7 separate regions of the Homo sapiens genome follow, and regions 1, 2, 4, 5, 6 and 7 are each linked to region 3. Evidence: promoter capture Hi-C in 16 types of primary human blood cells and fetal thymus (Javierre and others, 2016). All regions are on one chromosome and are shown on one strand. The core of a region is centred on a gene start or on the middle of the fragment in contact, and the rest is flanking DNA. Distances in the headings are between cores, read along the strand shown.

Evidence for each region. Contacts are between HindIII fragments. The CHiCAGO score rates a contact against its expected background, and 5 or more counts as called.
Region 1: a contact is called between a fragment that was not itself captured here and the fragment with the promoter of CACNA1I in region 3, in 7 of 17 cell types (activated CD4 T cells, M0 macrophages, naive CD4 T cells and 4 more). The highest score is 7.9, in activated CD4 T cells.
Region 2: a contact is called between a fragment that was not itself captured here and the fragment with the promoter of CACNA1I in region 3, in 8 of 17 cell types (megakaryocytes, naive CD4 T cells, M1 macrophages and 5 more). The highest score is 8.9, in megakaryocytes.
Region 4: the fragment with the promoter of ENTHD1 here is called in contact with the fragment with the promoter of CACNA1I in region 3 in 2 of 17 cell types (naive CD4 T cells and activated CD4 T cells); the score reaches 7.3 in naive CD4 T cells.
Region 5: a contact is called between a fragment that was not itself captured here and the fragment with the promoter of CACNA1I in region 3, in 1 of 17 cell types (monocytes). The highest score is 5.2, in monocytes.
Region 6: a contact is called between a fragment that was not itself captured here and the fragment with the promoter of CACNA1I in region 3, in 16 of 17 cell types (M1 macrophages, M0 macrophages, megakaryocytes and 13 more). The highest score is 21.2, in M1 macrophages.
Region 7: the fragment with the promoter of TNRC6B-DT here is called in contact with the fragment with the promoter of CACNA1I in region 3 in 3 of 17 cell types (M2 macrophages, activated CD4 T cells and megakaryocytes); the score reaches 5.4 in M2 macrophages.

What each region holds. Positions count from the first base shown.
Region 1 is chr22:39,970,867-39,974,467 of GRCh38, reverse strand. It overlaps GRAP2 (GRB2 related adaptor protein 2), which reads right to left. Exons shown (of 8, transcript NM_004810.4): 8 at 747-3,563. The coding sequence ends at 3,384. Among named protein-coding and RNA genes, the nearest start is that of TMA7B, 12 kb to the right of the region's middle. The HindIII fragment of the contact is 2,780 bases long and covers 587-3,366 here.
Region 2 is chr22:39,929,885-39,933,784 of GRCh38, reverse strand. All of the region lies in intron 1 of GRAP2 (GRB2 related adaptor protein 2), which reads right to left. Among named protein-coding and RNA genes, the nearest start is that of TMA7B, 29 kb to the left of the region's middle. RefSeq lists an enhancer at 209-873. The HindIII fragment of the contact is 2,178 bases long and covers 687-2,864 here.
Region 3 is chr22:39,569,105-39,572,672 of GRCh38, reverse strand. CACNA1I (calcium voltage-gated channel subunit alpha1 I) reads right to left here and starts at 1,920. Exons shown (of 37, transcript NM_021096.4): 1 at 1,685-1,920. The coding sequence starts at 1,920. The HindIII fragment of the contact is 9,228 bases long and covers 1,006-3,568 here.
Region 4 is chr22:39,892,402-39,895,973 of GRCh38, reverse strand. It overlaps ENTHD1 (ENTH domain containing 1), which reads left to right and starts at 2,214. Exons shown (of 7, transcript NM_152512.4): 1 at 2,214-2,279. It also overlaps a transcript of GRAP2 not described here. The HindIII fragment of the contact is 18,515 bases long and covers 1-3,572 here.
Region 5 is chr22:40,067,419-40,071,209 of GRCh38, reverse strand. It overlaps a transcript of TNRC6B not described here. Among named protein-coding and RNA genes, the nearest start is that of TNRC6B-DT, 25 kb to the right of the region's middle. The HindIII fragment of the contact is 4,346 bases long and covers 1-3,791 here.
Region 6 is chr22:40,021,101-40,024,672 of GRCh38, reverse strand. FAM83F (family with sequence similarity 83 member F) reads right to left here. Exons shown (of 5, transcript NM_138435.4): 4 at 2,710-3,383. Among named protein-coding and RNA genes, the nearest start is that of TNRC6B-DT, 22 kb to the left of the region's middle. RefSeq lists enhancers at 992-1,492, 1,493-1,993. The HindIII fragment of the contact is 2,052 bases long and covers 1,150-3,201 here.
Region 7 is chr22:40,043,172-40,047,188 of GRCh38, reverse strand. TNRC6B-DT (TNRC6B divergent transcript) reads left to right here and starts at 2,659. Exons shown (of 1, transcript NR_163486.1): 1 at 2,659-4,017. FAM83F (family with sequence similarity 83 member F) reads right to left here. Exons shown (of 5, transcript NM_138435.4): 5 at 3,655-4,017. It also overlaps a transcript of TNRC6B not described here. RefSeq lists silencers at 101-319, 1,606-1,675, 1,686-1,905 and enhancers at 2,206-2,325, 2,636-2,935, 3,017-3,664. The HindIII fragment of the contact is 12,286 bases long and covers 1-4,017 here.

The sequences.
Region 1 (3,601 bases), core at 727-3,226, 400 kb before region 3:
ACAAAGCTTTTACAACTTCTGCAATCTCTGCTGATGTTTAAAATAATTACTATTAGGAAATAGTAATTATTATAGGAAATTCCTGTTTGCATTTCATCTGAATTCCTCTCACATTACATTTTTTTAATTCTAGAGATAAGGATGCTAAAATAATAAGTCACCTGGGTAGCCAAATATGAATGACGTCATAATGACCGTTCTGAATTGCATCTGTCCCAAAGCCAAAGTGACCTATTCGTTAGCAGCGAAGAAAAAATGGCCGAATATCCTCAGAAGAAGAGCCCAATTAGAGTTGTGCTCACTGCTAAGTTCTTTGCCTTTGCTCCTTAACATGTGGACCTAGCAACAGCACCCAGTAGCTTGTTAGAAATTCAGGACCAAGTTGGAAGCTGCATTTCAACACGGTCCCCAGGCAATTCGTAGGCACTTTAAATTTTGAGAAGCACCATGGTTAGATCACCCTAGGGCCATCTAAAAGTGGGTGGGCAGTGGCAGGTGCCAGATATTTGAAATGCGGTGAGGCACAGCAAGTGGTTAGGAAAACCCAACAACTGGTCCAACAGGACCTGGCTTTTCTCTGGAAGCTTCAAGTTCCCAAGTCACATAGAGTGTTGCAGCCAAACTCGGGGACAATGTGTTTGTTGGCTGCTGGTTCTGTGGCTGGTGAGAGGAGCTGGCTCAACCCTCCTCTGGTGCTGAAATGCTGTCAGGTAGAAACTAGGGCCCGTGGGGACACATGCGGAGGGGCTCCCCCTGGCAGCACCAGAGGCTGAGGGGGGTTGAGCTCTCTTTCCCCCTCCCCTCCATAATGTGGACAGTTTGGTTCTTGTCCTCTTTACCTGGCCGCTAAGAGCCCTCATTCCTTGTAGGTGGTTTGGGTGACTTTCCCGCTTCCTTCTGAATGGAGGCTGATGAGCAAGGGAAAGATGCTTTGGCATCTCAGTACAAAATACTCTTCAGTAGCTTTTGCTACAACAGAACACCGAGCTCCAGGGGTTCTGAAAGCTCTGCTCATACCGCCTGCCTACGGGGTCAGCTCCTGCAGGCCGATGACCCCTGTCACCCCCTGGTCTCGTTCTCACTCTCTACCTGAGGGGTATGCAACGCAGACACCAGACACGGCCTGGCCAAACAAGGACACTTTGTTTTATTACTGCTTTCCTGAGAAGCCTTTCAAGGCACAAAGTCTCCACCAGAATCGAATCACATACCTCCGTCTAACTAGAGCTGGTCCTCCCACATCATCAGACAACTGGATGGAGTTTGTGGGCTGTTTAAAGCATATGGTTTGTAAATACTGTAAAATCAAACATTACTTATGGCTTTTATTTACTGCAGCATTTCACATTACCTAGCACCAAAATAGCTGAGGAGGTCTTCTCTGCCTTTGTTCTTTCTCCTGTTCTTTTCCTTATGCTTCTTTGCTCCCTGCCTTCCGCAGCAGCGGTTTCTCTGCTCTGATTCTTCCTCTCCCCACTGCCCAGCCCTCCTCCTGCACCATCTGCCCACCAACTCCACACCGTTCTCTTCCCTGGCCCCACTCACCCTCTCCCTTTCCTCCCCCTGTGCCTCTCACGCTGCCCCTTGATCCTCCTGGATGTCTTAGCTACCTTTCCCTCTCTCTGCTTTCACTTCCAAAAGCTGCAGGTGCTCCTTACTCACACTCGACTCCCTCCTGCCTCCACCAGGCTATTTTCTTTTCCCTCCCAATACCCACCACAGAGTTCCTTTTTTCCTCTTTCCTCTAAAGGAAACATGAGGATCAGAGAACTGTAGAATCACAGTCACAAGGGACACTGCTTGTGCTACACTGGCAGTCACTTCTGAGTCAGAAAATCTTTCTTCTCCGATCACCTTCAATAACGGCTGCCCCCAACCCCATCCCTCCTTAGAGCAAGAGAGGTTGGGGAAGAGAAAACTTCCAGGCTCCCTCACCAACACTTTCACCCCCTTTCCTGTCTCAGCACACACACAGACACACAGATGCATGCACGCACATGTCCACACATGCAGGAATGCACACATATGCATACACAAGCACACATGTATACACACAGGAGTGCACAAATATGTGCGTGCAAGCACACATGTGCACACCTGCAGGGGTACACACCCATACCCACAAACTCCGAGTGCACTTGGTGCAGAACGGGTTTGCACCCGGCCTCCCCTAAGGCCCTGAGCTTCCTCTCTACTGTCTCCTTCGCCCCTGGCCAGGCTGACCTGTGCTGTGCACCTCCAGAGTGAGCCCTTGGACACATGATTCTAGCGTGATGGGATGGAGAGCGACAGCCATGGTGGGGTTCCTTGCTCCAGGTGCAACTCTTGGGCAGCAGGAGGACAGCAGTGGTCAGACTGAACAGGAAGCTGGTGTCAAAGCCAGCTTCCACCTGGGGTCATGTTTAGTCAATCAATTCATAGTCAGGCTCCTATCATCAAGTGGGCTTCTTTCCATGCCACTGGGCAAGGCATCTTCAAAAGAGAAAATCAAGAGGGAAAATGAACAGAGCCCTGAAGACATACCCTTGTAACCATAAAACAATGACTGTAAAATTCAGCATTCTCAGCTAGAGCTTCTTCAAGCACTTTACGGAATGTAGGATGCTATTTCCTTCATAGCTGGGGAAACAGAGGTTCCACTGAGTAAGCTGCTTGGGGATTGTGGAAAATCCCTCGATTTCCCAGTACTTCGCTCCTCACATTGAAACATTCATTTGAAAGACCCAAGGAATATTAATTTGAACAGAGATGAATGTCTCAGCTAGGTGTTGACTAGGAGGCCAGCCTTGCACAGGCAGGGTCTCTCCAACCCCGTCCTGCCTTCACATCCCCGCTCAGACTCGCTTGGCTGCCCGCAGCACTGGGCTGCACCTTAATTCCTAATGCAACAGTGCCCACCCCTTGGAGAACAGGAGGAGAGCTGCTCTGCAAGCCCTCCAGGTGAGCGGGGCTTGCAGGTCAGCTAGAACGTGCCCCACCAAGTTCAACCCCACCCTGTTGTTCTGTGTCCAGTGCCGAGGTGTGGTCTCTGCTTAGCTGTTCTCCGTGAAAATTCCCAAGACAAGGAGGAAGCAGTGACAGCTGAAGGCCAGGACAAAACTCCATTTCATTTCCCTGCCCCCCTCCCAACTCCCCCACTGCCTTCCACACACCCCTGAGGGGGGCAGAAAAGCAAGTGTCAATATTATTCTCCACCTGAGTTCCCTTTTGCATCAACTAATTACCAGCCCAATTGCCAATAAATTACTAGTATAAAAAGTTGTGTGTGTACACAGGCAGATGTAGATAGATGTATGTATATATAGTCATGGAGTCCAGCCTTTTTTCCTTGCCCTCTTTCTTGTGGGCAGCTCCAGACAAAAAGCTTCTGTCCCCTGAAGAGTTTATCGGGTCATGGGTGCCACGTAGTTGGCAGGGAAGAGGCCCAGCTTGTTGTGCAGGCGGCCGGTCCACCAGGATGGGTTGGAGCTATCCAGGACCTCCACCACCTCCCCGCTGTGGAACCCCAGCTCGTCATCCTCCAGGGCCTCAAAGTCATACAGCGCCCGGGCCCACCGCACTCGCTGTTGGGGGAAGCACAGAAGAGGCTCTGCTGAGCTGT
Region 2 (3,900 bases), core at 526-3,025, 360 kb before region 3:
ACTGAAACATTCGCCTCCCAGGCTCAAGAGATTCTCCTGCCTCAGCCTCCTGAGGAGCTGGGATTACAGGTGCCCGCCACCACGCCTGGCTAATTTTTGTATTTTTACTAGAGATGGAGTTTCACCATGTTGGCCAGGCTCATCTTGAATTCCTGACCTCTAATGATCCACCTGCCTTGGCCTCCGAAAGTGCTGGAATTACAGACGTGAGCCACCATACCCGGCCTTGACACACAACTTTCTGAGGGTCATTTTTTCCATTTAGAATTTGTTAATGTCATGTTTGTCACATGACCTCCCAGATCCACTCAAGTCTCTCTTGTCATTTCAGGCCTTCAACAATCTTTCCCCATCCTGTCTGTCAAAATTAACTTTAGAAAATCACCTGCACCATGCAAACATGCTTTAGTAAATAGCTTCCCTTTGTTCTCTAAGCACTCCATCGACATCCTTGTCTCTGCACTGGTCTTCCTTCTCCCATCAAACTCACATTGCTATGTATGGTTGTGCAGGTTGCTCACTGCATAAAGGCCTCAGGCTGAGGTTGCAGTAAGGGCTGAAATGCATCCAGTGCGCTTCTCATCAAGCTGTGAGTCCCAGTATGGGGCTGCATCTGTTTAGAACTAGCACATTCTTCTTACTTAAACAAAGGCACCGGGTCTAATTTCAACTGCTCCTTTAAAGCTTTACTCAGGGCCTGCCCCCCTCATACCCCATGGTCTCACTTTCTCTTATTCTTCCAGGGGACTTGAAGTTATCTACCCCTTGCTCAGTGCTGCCGCCATCTGGGTAAGGTAGGCAAGCACATGAGCCTTGGAGTCAGGCTGCCAGCATTCAAACCCTTCTCTACTACTAGTTTTCTGAGTGACCCTTAGCAAGTTATTTAACATCTCTGAGCCTCAGTTTCCTCATTTTAAAAACAGGGATGATAATAGTGCCTGCCTCATAATGTTCTTGGGAAGAATATGTGGAATATCCATCTAATCCACTTAGTATGGTGTCTGGCACATAGTAGGCACTCAATAATTCAATAGTTGTTAGCTATTGCTACTTTTTTTTTTTTTTTTTGAGACAGGTATCATTCTGTGGCCCAGGCTGGAGTGCAGTGAGGCAATCAGGGCTCACTGCAGCCTCCAACTCCCAGGTTCAAGTGATTCTCCTGTCTCAGCCTCCCAAATAGCTGGGACTACAGGTGCATGCCACCACATCCAGCTTTTTTTTTTTTTTTTTTTTTTTGTAGAGACAGGGGTCTCCCTATGTTGCTCAGGCTGATCTTGAACTCCTGGCCTCAAGTGATCCTCCTGCCTCAGCCTCCCAAAGTGCTGGGATTAAAGGCATGAGCCACTGTGCCCAGCCAGCTATTGTCACTTTTATGCATAGTCCTTAATAGCTAACAACTATTAAGACATGTTGTGGCTCGCAGGAAGTATGAATAAGAAAATGTACACCTCACCAAGTAGGGTTGTCAGATAAAATACAGAATGCCCAGCTAAAGTTAATTTTCAGATAAGCAACCAATAGTTGTTTTAGTATATGTATATCCCAAATCTTTACTTTCTCCACAGAAATCTCAAAGTGGTGGACTGAAGCATTGTTAAGAAGAATAGCAAGGACTCGTTTGATCTTTTCACCCTTTCATCTCGAATTTCCCTGCTGCCCCTCACCTCATGCAACGCCTGTCCCACAAGATTTCTTACATGAAAACCGGGGAGTGGGCTAGCCTTTGGGATAAGCAGTATGAAGGTTCTAGAATGAAGCCTTTAGATGTTCTAGTGAAGGTTGTGGTTTGGAATAGAAGTATATAATCTCACTCATATATCCTGTGAGCCACAAAATGTTGTACCTTCTGTTTTCTCTACCTTTCTTGTGTTATTTGCTGCTTTTAATATTGTGTGGGTCAAAAGGCATGCTTTTACCATTATATATTATGGAATACTGTGTGTTTTGATAAATAAGTTTTATATATTGGAATTTCTGTTCTTATAAGGGAATTTTTCTTGAAGTCCGTATTTGTGGTAAAGCAGAAATCTTCTAAACTCTCTTACATATTCAGACATTTCTCTTGTGATTACTCTGGCATTTTACATTGTTACTCTCAAATTCGCCATCTACTTTCTCATGCCTATAACTCGTCAAATTTTTCCATGCTTGGCATCTGCACCACAGCAAAAAATTTCCTGGGCACCAGCCCCAGTAAATTATTACTAGTCCCATCGTGTAGTCATCAGGTTGACATTTACTTGTACCACCCATGTATCTAGTCCTGATGACAAATAATCCTTGAATTGGCTTATAATACCCCATCCTTTCTTTATATGATTTGCACCATCCTAGAACCTTGTCTCTTCCTGGAACCATTTCAGAGGAAGTTACAAAACCACCAACAGTACCAAATGTGGTTCTGTTGTTTGAATGATCTTCTCTCTTTAATAGCCTTTCATTTCAAGTCCTCCATTACTGACTCCTTGCACAGATTCTTCTCTCTCCTTCCTCTCTCTGTACTTCCAGGAATTGGTGATTTCTATCCAGGTTCGTTTTCAGATTTTCTGCTGCTTAACTTCACAAGGCTGTCTTGCCCACCTTCTCTCTCTCAGGAGTATCCATATGCTTTGTGTATTCGTTCAACAAACATTTCCTGTGCCCCACTCTGTGTCAAGCCCTGTGTAGAGCATGAAGATCCAGTGTGGACTAGACAGCCCATCTTAAGACCTCAGACAGTTCAGTCTTGTAGGAAAAACAAGTCAGCCAAACCAGTGAGATCAGCATGATAAAGGAACCACACCTCAAGTGGTTCAGGAACCCAAAGGGCAGGCTCCTAATCTAGCCTAGGACGGAGACAGGTGCAGGAGGGATTAGTGGAAGCTTCCCAAATGAGGTGACAATTGAACTGAGTCTTGCAGACAAGTAGCTAGGCAGAGTAGAGAGCTCATATATGACACACAGAGAGAATGGTGTGTGCAAATAGGAGTTGGGGACCCAACTGGTTCAATCATGGACTGGCAGGAGATGGGATCAGTGATTGGACTGGGGGCAGATCATGGAGGACATTGAAAGCATGCCAGGGACTTAGGACTTCATACCAAGGATGATGGGAAGTCATTGGACATTTGAAAACATTTGCATTCAGGAATGTTTAATCAGATGGCAGTATGAAGGAATGGAGGGCAGGGTGAACCGAAGATGGAGAAAGCATCGCAGTAGTCTTGGCTAGTAATGATGAGGGCCTGAACTACAACAGTGACAGATCATGCTCTTTCTTTTGACACTGGGTCTTTCCACATGTTTTTATCTCCATAGTAAGTACTTTACACATTATCTCATTTAAAGCATGCAAGAATCTCAAAATAAGAACTGCTATTGTATCCAGCTGACAGATGAGGAAAGTGAAGCTCAAAGGGGTTAAATAATCACCCAAGTTCATATGTATCAAAAAATGGTGGAGCCAGGATTCAAACTCAGCCTGTGCACTTAAACAGTATTCTCCCTTGTCTTAACTCAAGGGAATCACTGTGAATTATGACCAGTTGGAAGGGGGCTAAAAGACAGAAAAGAGTCTAGAATGGTGTTATCCAATAGAAATAGAATGCAAGTCACAAATGCCAGCCATTATGCCATTTTAAATATTTTGGTGGCACTTTAAAAAGTAAAAGAAAATTATTTTTAATAACTTATTTAACCCAATATGTCCAAAATATTATCATTTCAATTTGAAATCAATATAAAATATTATTGAGATACTTTGCATTATTTTTTCCAAACTAAGTCTTTGAAATCTGGTGTGTATTTTACACTTACAGCACATTTCAATTTGGACAAGCCACATTGAAGTACTTGGGACAGCATAGGTCTAGAACGACTCTTGAGTTCCTGCTGGGGGCATTAGGGTAGATGTTGGTAGCA
Region 3 (3,568 bases), core at 671-3,170:
AGATGTCAGTGAGTGCTGGGTGAACTAATTACCGAGCAGACCCTCTCACCAAGCCTGAGACGCTGTGAGCCGTCCCCCAGAAGGAGCAGGGAGGCTCTTAGCCCCCACCCAGCAAGGAACACCCAGTTCTGCATCCCACTCCAGCAGAGACCCGCTGGTTTCCAAAAGTTAGGGGGATCCAGGGCCCACGATCACCTCAGCCCCCTACAGAAGGGAAGCCTGGCAGTCCTGCAGCCAGTCTCAACATCCCAGCCTGCATCTGGCATCCCTGGATTCCAGGGCAGGACTCAGGCCTGCACCTGACCCACCAGCTCCCCGCACCCTGCCCTGTGTGGCCACAAGCACCAGAACCTCGAGCCACATATGGGCATTTTTTGGTGGGACCCTCAAACCACAAGGCCACCATGGCTTGGGTCCCCAAGCCTCCTCCTCAGTGGTCCCCAGCCCCCACTTCACCCTGCAAGCCAGTGCCACACAGTCCTTCCAGAGCACAGATCTCTCCAGACCCTGCTTCAAATCCTGCCCTTGGAGCACAGTCCCATCCCTCATGCAGCCTCCAAGGCCCTGCAGGGCTCCCGCCACACCTGCAGCCTCACCTCACTCCTCTCTGCCCCTCAGGGCTCCAACACTGCCTGCAACTCCTCCCTTCTCCAGGCTTCGCTCCTGCCATGCCCTCCTCCTGCCTCCCACTACCCTCTCTACCCAACCAACGCTCTTCCTTATTGAGGAGTCAGCTCTGGCATTGCCCATGTACACCCAGCAAACACTGCCAGAGCACCCACGATGTGCCAAGCACTGTGCCAGGTGCTAGGGTCCCCATCCCAGTCATCTGACAGTACCCCAGGGGAGGCAAATGTTAGATTCAGAATTCCACAGTTAGATGTGACAGTTAGATATGAAGCAGAGGAGGAATCCCAGAGGGCTTCCCTGAGGAGGTGATGCTTAAGCTGGGATTTTAAGGATGTAGCAAAGGATTTGGCCAGGTCCAGGGGGAAGGGAAAAGCTTTTCAGACAGGGGGAAGAGCCAGTGAGAGGACCCTGAGGCTCAGAAGAGCACAGGGGGGAAGCCAAGTGGTGGGAAGTGAGGCTGGGTGGAACACACAGGCCCTGATGGGTTGGATTAGGACTTTGCTCTGCACCTCCAGGACCATAGCAAATCATGACAGTCTTAAGCAGGGGGAACATGAGCCCACTGGAGGCAGCAAGTGGAGGCAGGAGGCCTGGGAAGAGGCTGCTCGGAGGCACAGTAAGGAGAATGAGTCCTGCCCTGTGTGTTGGGATCGGCTGCCCCGCTGCCCACGCCCACAGTTCCTGATCACGGCTCCCATCCTCTGTATGGTCACGGCCCATCAGGTGGCTCCAGAGTCTGACTGATCTGCATTCCCAGCCCAGCACAGGTCTGGGGCCCACACTCAAGGACTTTCTGAGCCAGCCAGCCACTGGACTGACCCCACAGCCACCAGCAACTTCCAGAACCTTCACATCAGCAGAACACCAGGTCCTCATCCATTTGAGGTCTCCCCAGACCCACCCTCTGAGCTCGCTCACCACCACCAAGGCCCAGTGGCCTCACCGCAGACCTCAGGTCTCCCAGCCGGAGCAAGGTGTGAGCAGCAGGACTCAATCCAGCCCCCCACCCTTCAGCCCCTGCAGGGCCCCGATCAGCCGAGGCTGCGGAGGATATGGGTTGCACACCATCTTGATGCACCAGTTCCGGGGGCTGGTGGTCTGTCGCAGGCAGAAGAAGGCAATAGGCGCCAGGTCTGGGTGTGGGACATGAGGATCAGCTCCATCCAGAGGCTCCTCCAGGCCTGGCGGGGAGGATGGGGGGCTCCGGGGTCCGGGCTGCTCCGTGGTGACTCCTGGCTCAGCGGCTGGGGCTGCTGCAGATGAGGAGGGCGGGGAGGCGCTCTCAGCCATGTCCACACTGAGCTGGGAGCCCTGGGGAAGACAGAGAGGGTGGCACGTGGTGGGGACAGGCCTGGTACATGCTCCCCAACCTGCCTCTCCACCAATAAGTGGACGGATGCAGCTCTGACAGCCCCACCTGAGCCCCACAGGCCCCTCACCCTCACTCTTGCATGAGGATTACGAAACAGCTGAGGGCCCAGCTGCACCCAACTTGGAATCTGCTTCCAAGCTGGGTGATCATGGGGCAAGTCTGCTCACCCTGGCTGAGCCTCAGTTTTGGCAAACGAAGATAGTGGGGAGAATAAAGCCTTCTTAGAATATAATTGTGATATTAACTCTTTTTTTTTTGTCTATTGGCAATTTTCTGTATTTGAAATCTTTCATTATTTAAGAGAAAAAATGTTTAAGTAATTATAGACAGAAAAGAAAGACGGAAGGGAGGGAGAGAGGGAGAGAGGGAGGGAGGGAGGGAAGAAAGGAAGGAAGGAAGGAAGGAAGGAAGGAAGGAAGGAAGGGATCTTAACTTTTTTACAAGACTAGAGCTATGTATTTATTGCACCATCAAAGGTAAAGAAAACTTGCAAGAAAAAAGAGGTGATTGTAAAGACAGACATTATTGCCAGGACAATGCAGGTTACAAAGGCAATGTTGGGGTGCTGCAGAATCAGAGACTGGGGGAACGCTGGCAAGCCAGGAGGGAATCACAGTTGGCTTCCCTGAGGAAGTAACCCCTGAGCTGAGACCTACAGCTGAGCCCTTGACCCAGGGACCTCCCAGCCACTGCCTTACAAGGCTGAGAACCCAGGAATCTTAGAGTCTAACCTCCTTGCCTTACAGATGAAGAAACCGAGGCCCAGAGAAGGGACAGGACAGACATGTAGCAGAGTAACAGCAGAAATAGAATTCCAGTCAAAGGCCAGGCACGTGACTCACACCTGTAATCCCAGCACTTTGGGAGGCCAAGGTGGGTGGATCACCTGAGGTCAGGAGTTTGAGGCCAACCTGGCCAACATAGTGAGACCTCATCTGTACTAAAAATACAAAAATTAGCTGGGTGTGGTGGCACACGCTGTAATCTCAGCTACTCGGGAAGCTGAGGCATGAGAATCACTTGAACCCGGGAGGTGGAGGTTGCAGTGAGCCAAGATCACACCACTGCATTCCAGCCTGGGCAACAGAGCAAGACTCTGTCACCAAAAAAAAAAAAAAAAAAGAATTCCGGTCAGAGCCCGCTTCCTGGGTCTGTGGCTCAGGCAGCTGCACAGGGCCCCGTGCTCAGAAGGGCCCTGAACTTGCTTTAGAATTCTTCTGTCACCAACATGAAATTCTTAATTGCTTATCAAGAGGTCCCACATTTTCATTTTGTTCTAGGTGATGCAAATCATCTTGCTGGCTCCGACTCCAACTCAAAGCACTTCTACTCCCTGGCCTTGTCTGATGCTCACAACAACCTCAGGAGGACTATTATGCCCATTTGGCAGGTGAAGAAACTGAGGCCAAGAGAACAAAGCGGGTTGTCAAGGCTATGCACCCAGCCAAGTGAAGCACTAGGTGGTGTTGAGAGGCCAGAATCCCAGCACCAGACCCCCAGGCGGGCTTCATGACAACTGATGGTGCCCTCGCTGGCCGAGAGCCTCCGCAACCAGTCAATGGCAAG
Region 4 (3,572 bases), core at 965-3,464, 320 kb before region 3:
TTCAAGTTTCAGGTAAACTGCTTCCTAGTTAAATATCTCTGGGCAATTACTGTAATCTATTTGTTTCTCCAAACTCAGTTTAAGCTCACCTCCTCCAGGAAGCCTTCCCTGACTATGCAAATATAGACAAGTCCCCCTTTCACTCCCGTAACATTGTTTGCCTTTATTATAGCAACTACTTACAATTGCTGATTTATTCCTGTTTCCTCTATTAGAGTATTAAACTACAACTTCCTTCTAGTCTCATAGCTCAGCATAGTGCTTGGCAAATAGCAGGTGCTCAATAATGTAGAATGTATGCATATTCCACAAACTCAGCTTTCTCACCTGTACAATGGGATAATAACGCCTACTTCTCAGCATTCCTTTGAGATTTACATAAGCTATACATATAAAAAAACTTCATAAACTATACCTCAATGTATAAAATACTTGTAGTTTGTCCCCCACTATTTTATAAAGTCAAAATACCTCAACATAGCATTCAAGGCCCTGAACAATGTTTTCCAGGTCACCTTTTCGATTTCCCTCTGGCTCCCACCCCATTACTCTATATTATAGCCAGTCAAATAATATTCCAAACTCACCAACTTCTTTCATACCTCCTATCATTTTATATTGGATTCACCTATCTACATGTCAGTATCAATAATGTGGGCTATTATTATTATAATTATGACTGAAGTAGTAGGAGATAGAAACAAATGTTGCTTTTGTCTACTAAGTGTTTTGTTATCCTCTGTCTTTTCCCCTCATCCTAGTCAATATTCCATTAAAACACAGGTTCGATTACATTTTTCAATGCCTACTGGATAAAATCACCTTGTAGTATGGATAAGGTTCTTCATGATCCAACTTCCCTCTGTTATTTAACCTTCCTCTGCTGCTCCACTAATAGCCTTTGTGACAGTTGTAGTAACTACAGTACATGTAGTTTTTCCAAGATAATAGGCTGGCTCAGCTTTCATGCCTTTACACATGATGTGTCCTTTGCCTCTTACGTCCTCCTCTACTTTGTCTATCCAGTGAACTCCCTGTCATCCTTTAAGATTCAATTCAGATGTAAACTCTTCTGTGAAACCTGCCCTTAAATACTCAGTGGCAGAATTAGATGATCTCTTCTCTCTTACTATGCCATACATATCTTGTTACAATCTTCTCTGACGGTGCCTGTCACCTCCACTAGCCTGTAAACGTATCCAGCAGAGGGCTGCTTTTTATCTCCGAGTCCTTACTGTCTGGCACAAAGTGGGTGCTCACGGAAAATCAGTTGAATACATCAACAATTACCCGTCAGTGGCACCTGAAGCCATCAGTCACTGGAGCTACCCCATCATTGTCCATCACACACACTGCTCTTCATAGACTACTATTACATTCTCAGTCCTTTGAGGTGGCAATCACGTGCTGGTGGTATTTCTAGTCAGTTGAAATGACAGTAGTAACACACTTTTAAAAATGTATTCATGTGCCATGCTGGTGCGCTGCACCCACTAACTCGTCATCTAGCATTAGGTATATCTCCCAATGCTATCCCTCCCCCCTCCCCCCACCCCACAACAGTCCCCAGAGTGTGATGTTCCCCTTCCTGTGTCCATGTGTTCTCATTGTTCAATTCCCACCTATGAGTGAGAATATGCGGTGTTTGGTTTTTTGTTCTTGCGATAGTTTACTGAGAATGATGATTTCCAATTTCATCCATGTCCTTAAAACTTAAATAATAATAAATAAAAAAAAAGAGATATTATGCTAGAAGTCTGAGTATTTTACTGATTTTCCATTTTAAGAATAAATTATCATGGCAAATTTTAAGTTACATACATTATTTTATTGTCTACTTTTTAAAAACATTATCAGCTTACCTTGGCATTTTTTTTCTTTTTTTAATGTCCGTTTTTACGTTGTGAACATTTAGTAAATTAATTTATACTCATTTTTATTTAATTAAGAAAGCAGCTAAGAATAAATGCTAGTGTCTGATTAAACTATTTCCCAGATCTCAAAAAAAAAAAAAAATTTATTCTTTGAAAGGAGGATTAGGGCAGTGTCACAGCCCGGCAGCCTGTGAAACGAAGACACTTACCTTCATTCCCCTTGGTACCCTCCAGCTCAGGTATCTGCAACCATCTTGCTTGACGCCCTGACAGGAACTGCACCAGGCCAGAAAGTGAGGAAGCGGAAGTGGGGACCGGCCTGGGCCCTTGAGCCTGGCTGGAGTAGGTGGAATATCCTGGGGAGAGGAAGTTTGGTCGTTGGGCAGCGGCCGACTTTCCTCTCAGGTAACAGCCTCTGCTTGGGAGTGGTGGTGGGGCTCAAGGCGGGTCTGGAAACATCGGTTGCCTTCCCTCCTCCCGTTTCTTGCCGGCACCGTCGGAGTCCAGGTGGGGGCGGGAGGGCGGCGAGGCCATTACCATCCGCAGGAGGTGAAATCCCTGTGGCGTGACGTGACGCCATCACGTCCCTCTCTCCTTCTAGAGGCTTTCCTGAGGTCCAGCCTTCCCCTCCACTGCCGGTTCTCCTAGGGTAATTGCTGGTCTGATTCTCTGTGTGGCCGAACGCCCAGCACCTGGCTCATCTGGTACACAGTCGTCATCTGAAGTGGGGGTTGTATGAATGAAGACGAGGATGCCGAGGAAAGGCCCTGCCCACAGAAAGTTGATTCTTGCTCAGCCTCCACCCGCCATTTTCAAAATTCTTTCCAAAGCATCTCGTTTCTTCCTCCCCCACGGCCCTGTCTGGCGATTATTCTTTGTGTTGCGGATGAGGGAACTGAGACTTAGAGAAGTTGTTAAGTCTTAGTTAGGAAATGGCAAAGCAGGACCTCAAATCATGGCTTTGAATCCTAATTAAAGGAGAGAGATGAGGCATGTGAAGGCCCAGGTGTGAGCACATTGTGAGCGTTCAATGAAGAGTAGCTGTTTACTCCAGGGTGTGAGGACTGTGTCTTGTGCACCTGTTTCTCCATTTCCTAGAATGGAGCCTGCCACATGGTAAGCTCTGGAAGATTATTAGTTGAATAAATTAATGAACACACACTTAGGGCTGGAAAAGATTAGATTCTCTGCCTCTGACAGTATTCTTTTCATCAAAACAGTAACACCTCCTAATGGCATGGTAGTCTCTATAACCATTTTCCCGTAGCATTCTTGGCCAGAGCTCATTTCCTTACGAGTCAAACTCATGTCTATAGGCAGAACCTGTACAAACACAAGAGCTGTTCTTTTCTCATAGTTCCACCTTAAATGCATCTTTTCAGAGATAGCTCTGGACACTCAGCCTCTTAGATGCTATTGTCATTATTGTCCCAAGTCTTTGGATAAAGTCAGTTCAGCTCCTCTGTTCCTTATTCTCAATCCTGAAATCCAAAAACTTTTGGAAATCAACTTTTCCTCCAACTCATTTGGTGGTAAAACTTGGCCTGAGGCCATTTGTAGTCTTTATTCCAAATATTTACATGTTTTTATTGCAGACATGTTAATGTGTTTAATTGTTCAGAGCAGCTCCACACCTTACTGTGGGTATCATGTAATATATGGTATAGACATGGCACTACTCTTGAAAATTCCACCCCT
Region 5 (3,791 bases), core at 660-3,159, 500 kb before region 3:
CTTTGTGAAGAGGTGTCCTAATTTCTATTAACTGGCCTATAGAGAAAGAACAGATTTAATCTTACATCCTGTAGCAGAAAAAAAAAGGAAAGTGGGTTCCATTTTCAGAGAGTAACAAATGCTAGCAAACATTAGAGCTAAGAAAGTAAATAGTCTACAGTCCCTTACCCACAATTCCAAAATCCAAAAACTTCTGAAAACCAAAACTTTTCTGGAATTCATTGGTGGTGAAACCTGATGGGAATTTAATTGGTGGCAAGGTCTGACCTGAACTGACATGAAACTATTTATAGTCTACCCACTTTAGACTTTAGTCATAGCTTTGGCTGCTGAAATACTAATGTATTTGACTCTGAAGTGCTGCCTCTGACCCTGCAGGGGCATTGTATAACATATGGTAAGTGCATCTTATTAGTTTTCAAAAAAAAAAAAATCTGAGCTATAAAATACATCTGGCCCTTAAGAGTTTCTGATAAGGAATTGTGAACCTAAAAATGAGTTTTTATTAAAATGATCCTGTCAACCTTCCTGAAATATACCATTTTTTTCTTAAAATACCTGTAAATTAATTTGAACTAATTCTTTTCCTCAAACTTAAAATATTCTACTTTGAATATCTATAAAGATATAACTGTATTATTAGTTACAATATTTTATTCCACTTCAACATTAAGTCTTATTTTAACTTCTTTCTGAAGGAAACACTGAAATCAGCCTTTAGCAGATGGTATCAGAATGGAGTGAAGACAAAGTTAAAAAAGCAGATCTCTGTCAACGAGCTTCACCCTTTCTTTTTATGTTTAAAGAAAAACAGCATGAGATTTTCTGATGTATCAAAGAACATTAATTTCAAAAGTTAATAAATCCCAATTTAAGTCATTAAAAGAATCAAATCAAATAAAAAGTCACAAAATCCAAGAAGTTACTAAATCACAAAATAAAAGTCAAGTAATAGAACAGCTACAAGAAATGAAAATTATATACTTTAGCCCAGTTACTTATCGATTTTATTATACGAATAAATGACAAAGGCACACGGAACACGCAAAACTCAAATGTCTCTCTTAGAGAAAAAAACTATAAAGCCAGATTAAAGCAAGAACTAAGACATAAAACTAACAACCTATAATTAATTACAATGAAGGGTATTTTAGAAGATACGAAAAAATAGGCACAGAATGAACACTTTAATAAACATAAATACAACACTTGTACCTACATAAAACATAATTAGTTAAAATTTTTTCTTTTAATATACACCAATCCTCCCAACTCCCCACCTCCTACAACACAACTAACATGCCAGAAACACTCCAGCCAAATAGGAACCTCATTTCATAACTGATAGCCGTGAAAATCTCTTTTAATAAATGTGTGGTATAGAAAAGAACCCCTAATTATTTCTGTCTAAAAGAAGCTCTCGGCCGGGCGCAGTGCCTCAGGCCTGTAATCCCAGCACTTTTGGGAGGCCGAGGTGGGTGGATCACCTGAGGTTGGGAGTTCAAGACCAGCCTGACCAACATGGAGAAACCCCATCTCTACTAAAAATACAAAATTAGCCAGACATGGTGGCACATGCCTGTAATCCCAGATACTCTGGAGGCTGAGGCAGGAGAATCGCCTGAACCTAGGAGGCGGAGGTTGCGGTGAGCCGAGATCACGCCATTGCACTCCAGCTGGGGCAATGAGAGCGAAACTCCATCTCAAAAAAAAAAAAATTAAAAAAAAAAAGCTCTTACAAAGTTATACTCAAAGAAACTAAAGACTGAAAAATAACACAAAATATTCCTTAAAACAACTTTTAGGCCAGGTGCAGTAGTTCACACCTGTAATCCCAGCACTTTGGGAGGGTGAGGTAGGAGGATCCCTTGAGCCCAGGAGTTTGAGATCAGCCTGGACAACATAGGGAGACCCCAGCTCTACAAAAAAAAAAAATTTTATATCAGTCAACCTGGTAGTGTGCACCTGTGATCCCAACTACTCAGGAGGCTGAGGTGCGAGGGCTGCTTGAGCCCACGAATTTGAGGCTGCATGCAGTGGGGCATGATTGTACCTGCACTACAGCCTGGGCGAGACAGCGAGATACTGTCTCAAAAACAAAAAACTTTCATAGCAAATTTGTGGCTAGGTCCTGGAAACAAAGGATAATGCTACCTTTACACTATTGTTTACTAAAGTGTGGTTTTTACTCTCCATGAAAAATATGTGGTCATAAAAATAGTATGTATGGAATTCTAAATTAATCAAAAATAAAAATTAAAAATTTCAATGCAAATTTCAAGGTAAAAAGTCCACCTCATATATATGGATTTAAAAGAAAAATCTGGCAAGGTGCAATGGTTCATTCCTGTAATCCCAGCATTTTAGGAGGCTGAGGCAGGGAGGACTACTTCAGGCCAGGAGTTTGAGACCAGCCTGGGCAACACGGCGAGACCTCATCTGTAGAAATAAAAAATAAAAGAAGATTTTCCTGTTGTAACCTTCCTTTTACTTAAACAAAACACAGAATTGAAAGAAAATGAAAAGAAAACAAGACAACGAAAAGTTACTAAGATACTAAACAAGAACATCCAGATAAAGAACAAACCAAGAGGCCAGGCGCGGTGGCTCACGCCTGTAATCCCAGCACTTCAGGAGGCCAAGGCAGGAGGATCACCTGAGGCTAGGAGTTCGAGACCAGCCTGGCCAACATGGTGAGACCTCGTCTCTATTAAAAACACAAAAATTGGCTGGGCATGGTGGCGCGTGCCTGTAGTCCCAGCTACTCAGGAGGCTGAGGCAGGACAATCACCTGAACCCAGGAGGCGGAGGTTGTAGTGACCCGAGATTGCGCCACTGCACTCCAGCCTGGGCAGCAGAGTAAGACTCCATCTCAAAAAACAAAACAAAACAAAAGAACAAACCACGTAAGTAAAAGAGTATCCACTCTATCTACTATAAGGTTCACTATTCACTATAAAGGAACTGTGAAACTATACAGTTAACTAAAAAGATGAAATTACAGAAAATAAAAGCTGAAAGCTAAAAATCTAAGAATTCAAACCATAAGAATACTTTTTTAAAGTCCTTATCTTTCTGAATTGGGGGTGGGATGAGGTTAATAGGATCTTAGGGTGCTGGAAAACAAAGACTATGGAAAAACAATTTTAACCTCTTTCCCCCAAAAAAGAATTTGACCCAGTGATTAAGGTGGCATATGATAGAGTGTATATTCCAATCTACTTGGTTCTATGGACATTCTTTGGTTAATGACATAACATATCCACTGTGATGGTTAATTTTAGGTATCAACTTGACTGTGTTGAGAGATCCCTAGATGGCTGGTGAAGCATTGCTTCTGGGTGTGCCTGGGAGGGTGTTTCCAGAGGAGACTGACAGGTAAGTCGGGGAGTGAGACTATTGCCCTCAATGTGGGCAGGCACTATCCCATTGGCTAGGGGCCTGAATGGAAAAACCCTGTAGAAGAAGGGTGCATTCTCTGTCTCTTCCAGGATGGGATTCCCTCCTCCTCCTGCTCTTGAACATCAGAACTCCACGATCTTCAGCCTTTGGACTCTGGGATTTGCACCAGCAGCCTCTTGGGGCTCTCAGGCCTTCAGCCTTGGACTGAAAGTTACACCACTGGCTTCCTTGGTTCTTAAGCCTCTCAACTTGGGCTGAGACACGCCTGAGCTTCTCTGGTTCTCCGACTTGCAGACGGGCTATTGTGGGACTTCTCGGCCTTCATAATCACAGGAGCCAATTCTCCTACTAAATCCTCTCTCATGTATCCATACAAATATATATTCTGT
Region 6 (3,572 bases), core at 926-3,425, 450 kb before region 3:
ACCTCGGAAACCCTCAATGGTGCACTCCCCCACCTTCTAGATGAGAACACAGCCCCAGGGAGGGGACGGATGTGTCCTGGGTACAGGGAGCAATGTGTCCCGAATTGAGAGCCAGGTGGCAGCTGCTCTGGGAGGTTCTGAACATTTACCAGGGGAAGGGGACACTTTCCCTGCATGGGGGCCCAAAGGCAGGAGCTCAGGTTCTCACTGATTCCCACGGTGGGTGCCCCATGCTGTCAGGGGCCCACCTTCTCACACATGCAGTCCTGGCTGCTTAGCTGCTGCTGCCTGAGGGGAGACACTGAAGCAGCCCCACTTGGCCATGGTGTGGGAAGCTGGAGGCCGTGAAAAAGGGCCTCTTAGGAGAGGAGCTCCTGGCCAGGCGCGGTGGCTTGTGCCTATAATCCCAGCGCTTTGGGAGGCCCAGAGGTAGGAGGATCACTTGAGGCCAGGAGACCAGCCTGGGCAACATGATGAGACCCTGTCTATACAAACAATTTAAAAAATTAGCCAGGCATGGTGGCACACACCTGTGAGCCCAGCTACTCAGGAGGCTGAGGTGGGAGAATCGCTTGAACCGAGGAGGTTGAGGTTGCAATGAGCTGTGGTCGCACCACTGCACTCCAGCGAGACATTGTCTTAAAAACAAACAAAACCAGCAAAAGACAGGAGAGGAGCTGCTGCTTCTCCCTCAGGCCTTGGGAGGGAGAGGAAAGGTGCGTGAATTTCAGGACTGCAGGTACTGGGCGCCCACCCAGGTGGGCAGAAGCCTTACCGGAGGAGGCTGCTCTGTGTTCGTCTAAAGGACGGACAAGGAACGGGATGATGGTTCCGGGCATCCCCGGACCTTCCTGGCTGTCCGTGCCCTCGCCCTCACTATTCCCTCTCTCTCTCTATCCCAGCATCAGGTGCCCTGGAGAGGAGCTTCCCAAGGGTACCGTCTGTGTCTGCAAGGCTGGCTCCTGGGCACCATGTGCAGACACCAGAGAGCGGCAGCAGGGGCAGGGCCGCCGTGACCACCCGAGATGTGGGAGCAGGGACATGGATGTGGAGGGACACGCAGAAGGCAGCGGGAAGGGACAAGACAATGGGCTTTGAGTTTCCATGGAAACTGCATCTCAGGGCGAGGGGCTGAAGGAAGAGAAAGCTTCCACTCCACTTCAGTCAGGACTCGGGAAATAGTCCTTGCTGCTGTCGGCTCGCCCCCTCCTTCCCCTCTTCCACCTCCTTCCCCTCTTCCCCTCGCTCCCTTGCCAGGTGTTCACCATGGCAACCCTTCCTCCAAACCAGAGGTACAGAGCAGGAGCAGCAGCAGCAGCAGCAGCTGGTGTTAGGGGAGCCAGGGAGCCCAGGAGGAATGGGGATGGGGCCAGCCACCCCTCCCCTGACAGAACATGGCTGTGCCCATGCCTGGTCTTGAATCCTGGCCTTACTACCACTTCCTGTGACCTGGGACCACTTCATTCACCTCTCCGAGCCATCTGCCACCTCTGTGCTTGAAGGGTGGTTGTGGGGGCAGAAGGGGAGAGAGAGTGCCTGTGCAGGACCTGGCAAGCCAGCAGCTCAGTCAACGTCTCCAGGCCAAACAGAAGGAACGCCCTGACACTCCCACTGTGCCCACAGCCACAGAGGCGCCCAGGCCTGTTCCAACTCCAAGAAGCAAAGTTAGCCAACATTTCCTGAGCACAGAATGTGTCAGACTCCAAAGCAGTGCTGGGGAATTAGCAGAGGGGATGACACTTGTGCTCCCTGCTCTCACACCATCACAATCCGGTTAAAGCTGGTGTGCAGGAATGCAGGAGTCCTGGAAGCCCTTGGGCCGGGCACACAAGACCTCAGGCCCTGCCATCGCCCACCTGGCCAGCCAGAGCCCAGTTCTCATCACTGGGCTCCACAGCGATGGAGGGAGAAACCCCACCATGGAAAGTCCCCTGACTCAGGGATGCAGAGATGAGAAAGGCACCGCCACCAGCCACCTGAAAGGCCACCCCAGAGACTGCTGCAGAGAGAGACATAAAGTCCAGGGCCTCCTGGGGATCCCAGAGAGATGCCCAGAAAGACGCTGCCATGGAACAATCCCACCCAGGGACAAGCAGCTGGGCAGACAGCACTCAGCAGAGGGACGTGGAGAAACCAAGTCGGACTGCCCGTCACAGAGACAGGAAACTGGGTCAGGGCACCAGTAGGGTACAGGGGAGGGTGGGGTGTGTCTAACCAGGTGAGATCCTGACAATAGGTGATCTGGCAAGGGAAAAGGTTTGCTAGAAAGAGCCCTCAACTCAGAGCCAGGGTCGAGCTGCAGCCATGCACCCCACTGTGCAGAGCCCCCGTTTCTTCACTTACAAAGGAGAAAGTTTCTCAGCTTATTTGATTTGTTGGGTTACCATGAGGGCTGATCTGAATGCCTTCTAGCAGTAGCATTAGAAGCTCTGAGACCCCTCCATGCCAAGCCTGGAATCCTTCTCTTTTTTCAGAGAAGAGGAAAATGAAACTCAGAGCTGCAGGACTTGCCCAAGGCCTCCAGGCAGCTAATGGCCGGGGCCAGAATGGGAACCAAGGACCCCGGAACCCCAGAGCTCCTGCCCTCTCTGTGCCCACAGATGGAATCTACTCCTCTGCAGGTATGAGGCAGTGCTCCTGGATAAGAGCCGATGCGGGGCGAGGGCCAGAGGCCTGGGGAGGCACCAGGCCAGAGGGAAGAGGGCTCACCTGAGATGTCAGCACTGGAATTCTCGTTGGGCCTCTTCCCCGTCAGAAACTCCACTTCAGAGGTCTCGGTGGAGACAGAGCTGGCCATGCCATTGGGCGCCGCAGGCCTCTTGGCTCGGCGACTGAAGAGCCTGCTGCTGAAGCGCCTGGCGGGGGCGGCCTCCCCCCGGGCCGCTTCTCCCATGCCGTTTCGGCTGGGTGCCTCTCGGGATTTGGGCTTCAGGTCTCTGTGCATGTGAGAGACCATCCTGCCATCCTTCTGGCTCAGCTCTCCCAAGGGGATGGGCTCCACGGGGGGCAGCACCTGCTCCACCGTAACCAGGTCTTTCAGGAAGCTCTCCAGGCGCCAGGCCGACTCGCCACCGCTGGCGCCCTCCTCCTGCCCCTCCGGGTTGCCGCCCGCCTCCCGCTGTTGCCGGGCAGCCCAGCGCATCATCTCCCCAGGCGGGTGGCGGCAGCCTGACACCAAGGCGTACTTGGGGTTGATAAGCTTTCGAGCCACAGTGGAGGAGTAATGGAGGCCAACCCTGCCCGCCAGGCTCAGCTGCCGGTACAAGTCCACCTCCTCGGAGATGGCGTACAGCTCCCGGAACTCCGTGTCAAAGGGCTCTACGTTCTGTCCTGTCAGGAGCAGGAGGAGGTTTCTGTCCACATGGGAGGAACTCCAGGTGAACCTGGGAACGTGGGGACAGAAAAGCAAGACACATGTGCCCAGGCCTCTCTCTTGCCCTGCCCCCGCCCCCACCTGCCCCTCCGCTGTGGCCAGACCCTTGCTGCAGGTGTACGGCTCCTTGTGGGCCACACGCTGGACTGATTCCCTCCACCCACCCGTAGCCTCCCTTTCCCCAGAGCTTGGCCTCAAA
Region 7 (4,017 bases), core at 1,410-3,909, 470 kb before region 3:
GGCTCTCAAACCAGACAGACGTTGAGACTAAACCTATGCCCTGGAACTGCATAGCTGTGTGGCTCCTGGAGATCCCTTTTCTCATTCATAGTATAGTAACGATACCTACCCCACAGGCTTGGGCTAAGAATTAGGGGAAAAGATGTCAAAAGGCTGGCATAGAGTAAGCATACAATAAATGTTAGCTAATATTATTACTGCCATTTCAACAAGTGGTATTGCTCCGACTTGAAAACATTTTTAAGGCCGGGCGCGGTGGCTCACGCCTGTAATCCCAGCACTTTGGGAGGCCGAGGCGGGCGGATCATGAAGTCAGGAGATCGAGACCATCCTGGCTAACATGGTGAAACGCCGTCTCTACTAAAAATACAAAAAAATTAGCCGGGCGTGGTGGCGGGCGCCTGTAGTCCCAGCTACTCGGGAGGCTGAGGCAGGAGAATGGTGTGAACCCGGGAGGCGGAGCTTGCAGTGAGCCGAGATTGTGCCACTACACTCCAGCCTGGCACAATCTTTGAGACTCTGTCTCAAAAAAAAAAAAAAAAATTGAGACTCTGTCTCAAAAAAAAAAAAAAAAATTTAAGTGCTTCCATTTGAATGAGGGAAATCTTTTTCAAGGGCATGACATTTATATGTTACCACAGAAAAGCAGCTACGGAATTCCTATCAGAAACCACTCTGCTCAAATAATGGTGTTTGGGATAAGCCCTTAATAATAGTAAAGAACTAAGAAAATATAAAAGTATTATTATCATCATCACCACGTCCCACGTGGGACAAGCCAGTCTGATTTGTATTCTGGATATTGGTGAGTGTGCCTTCGTGCAAGTGGGCACTACACAGCCCTCCCACTACCTGCCTACAGCAATGCTGCGCGCTGTAGAGACAATGCGCTAAAAGTTCCGCTCTATAAGAGGCATTTACACAACACTACCCAAAACACATCTGTACTTTCGAAGCCAAGATCACTGATGATTCTCCAAATCAAGAGAAACCTTATACTACTGAAATCTCCCACAGCGAAGAGAGAAGTAACCTCTATTAGTAAACTTTCACAAAATGCTAATGTCTATCATTTCTACACACTTTATATATATACTTAACTGTTGGTGGGGGCACTAATGTTTCATTCACTGATTCTTGGCTTGTTTTATTCACTATGAAGAAATATCTTTGACCAATTTTGTATAATTTTGCTTAAATTATAATACAAATGACCAACTTGAAATTCACCATCCTCTCGTTCAATCTCTAGCACTGATGCTAAAAAGTAATAAAACAGCCAAAACACATGAGAAAGCACGAACTTAAAGTCCCAGGCTGGTAACCTGAATTCCAAAGAATTCAGAATAAGCTGGTCCTTAAGGCGCTTGACTAGAGGTGACCGTTACTGGACGTCTTTAACCACTACAGCGTGTCTCGCTGGATCGGATGTCCAGCCTCTACAGCCGAATAAACCGGTAGTCTGGAACTGAAGGGCACCGGACCACGGGAAGGTGTAAAAACACTCTCCGTGCCCCTCGTTTCCTTGTCCAGAGTCTGAGCCGCCTCCCCAAGTGGCCGCACACGCAGGGCCCTGGCGAGGGGTGTGGAACGCATTCACCTTGTCACGCAGGTCCTGCACACAGGCCGGGACGCTGCGCAGGGACCCGAGGATCCGAGGCCTGACGCCTCCCTCTGCCACCGCCAGCCAGGGGCGGACGCGCCTCCGCGGGCCGGGAAGGTGTCCCCGCGCCGAGGCCCCCCGGAGACGGGAAGCGAACTCGACGGCCGGGCCAGCCCACCCGGAAGCCCTCCCCCAGCTCACACCTGCTGGCGCGTGACGCCCGGAGCCGCGCGCGCGCCCGCCAGTGCCTGCCCGGCCGTTCGGGGCGCCCCGGCCCGCGCGCCGGACGTCGCCCCGAGTCCCTCCCCGCCCCTCGACTCAAATCTCGGCGGCGCCCGCTCCCGCGGAGCGCGCGCTCAGCGCCGCCGGCCGCACCAGCCCCGCGCGCGCTCACGCCCCCTCCCCGGCCCGCTCCCCGCCCCACGCGCGCTCCCTCGCGAGGACACGCACACGCCGCGCCTCCGCTCACCGCCCCGGGCCGCGCCGCGCGCCCCCGGGGGCGCCCTCGCCGACCCCCGGCCGCCCCGCTCCGTCCCGGCGGGGCGCGGGGGAGGGGAAGGACGGCGCGGCCGCCGCACCTCACTCACCGCCGAGCCGTGCCGGCTCCGAGTGCGCGGCGTTTCGCTGTGAGGCGAGGCGCGCAGTCTCCGCTTCTCCGCAGACTATGGAGGCGACGTCGTAGGGGGGACTGAGGGGCGCAGGGGTCACTCCCTCCCGTTTCGCCTTGCAGCAGCACGGGGACCCCAAAAACTAAAAACAAAATAAACAAACTTTCCCCTCCGCATCCCTCCCCCAAAACCACAACACAAACACTCGGGGGCCCGCCCAGAGCCCCACTCCATTGGCCGCAGGGAGGATGCTTCCGGCTCTCACTGGCTGGCTTTTGTGCCCGTCAAGCTGTCGTTCCGCCCCTCCAATTCCTCGTTGCTGCCTTCGCCCCTCATTGGTTAAGTGCTTCCCGTTTAACGAGCTAGGATTGGCTGAGCTGCCTGAGCCAATCATGTGGGGACACACCCCCTCAGCATCCCAGAGGCCGCTTCCTCGGTCGAGGACCCAGAGAGACTCAGGGGAAATTAGAGCATGATGGCGGCCGAGGTCGCTTGGCGCAACCATCGTCTTTTTTCTTTATTTTTAGCTCATTAGTGCCTTGCCTCGGCGCTGTTTCCCTAAGCTCCTCTCTCCAACCAGTACTGCCCTATAACGGAATCCATACGTGCCGGCTCCTTGATTTATCCCCTCCGAAGTGCTGAGTGTGGGCTGGTTGTGCGTCATTGGACTGTCAGGATGTCACTCCCCAGTCAAATCTTCAAGCTATTGGTGGAACAGCAAGAAAGCCCGTCCATCAACAAGGGCTAATACCATTGGTTTGACTCCACTGTGTTATTTCCTGGCACCTTATTGGGCAAATAGGTGCGTCAGATCCGGATTCGCTCTGCTACGGTTAATTGTTTACTGGGGATTTGGGGTCAACTCTGGTTGTTTGGCCAGTAGTTGACGATAATAGTGACTCCCTTGCCTATTTTGTGCCAAGTATTGGGCTGCTTTCTTCACAAACATTATCTGGTTAAACCTGGGAGTAATGCAGTATCCAGTTTTTATAGATGGGAAATTAAGGCTGGCGAGAGCTTAGAAAACTTGCCCAAGGTCATCCAGATACAGAGTCGTTGGTGGGCCTGGCATCTGGTCCTGGGTCAAACTGCAGAGACTTCACTCTTTTTATTATGCTTTAGTGCCTCCACCTTAGACGATGTACTTGTCAGCCAACCTAGCATCTTAAAAACGTTTCATTTGGAACTCAAAGTCTTCAGTCAGTTTCTAGAAGTGACTTTGTTGGGGACTTACTATGGAAAGGTTGTCATTGCCTCCACCACATCTTCCTCCCCAGGACCCATTCCTCTCCCCTTTAAGGTAGACATTTCTGCCTCCTTTTATGCGAAGCCTAGGCACCACTCGCAACCCCTGACCAACCATCTACAACTCATTCTTTGGAGAGAGTCCTCAAGAGCTGGAAAACTAGGAGAAATCAAGTCTAAAGAGAGAGACAGAATAAATCGTCTTAGAAATGAATAATTTATTGCATGCAAAGAGAACAGCCCTTCAGCTCCTGGAAATCTTCCAGGATAGTTGATGCTGAGCAAGACGTGTGCTCCTGGCTGGTGGCCACTGGGTTCTTTCCCTATAGCAGCATTCATCGAAGTGAATCCAACATTTCAGCCAGAGGAGGGCAGGACGCTTAGGACCCATTGCCAGTGAGCTTTTGCGACCGAAATGATCTCCAGGAGCACAACGCTGGACTCTAGCCCACATTCCATCTTGGGTAATTAACATTTTACCGTCCCAAATCCCCATCCCCTGTAGCTTCAGTGGGATCACCGCCCTTGTTTCACTTCCTGATCCAAGCTGTTGTGTAACCT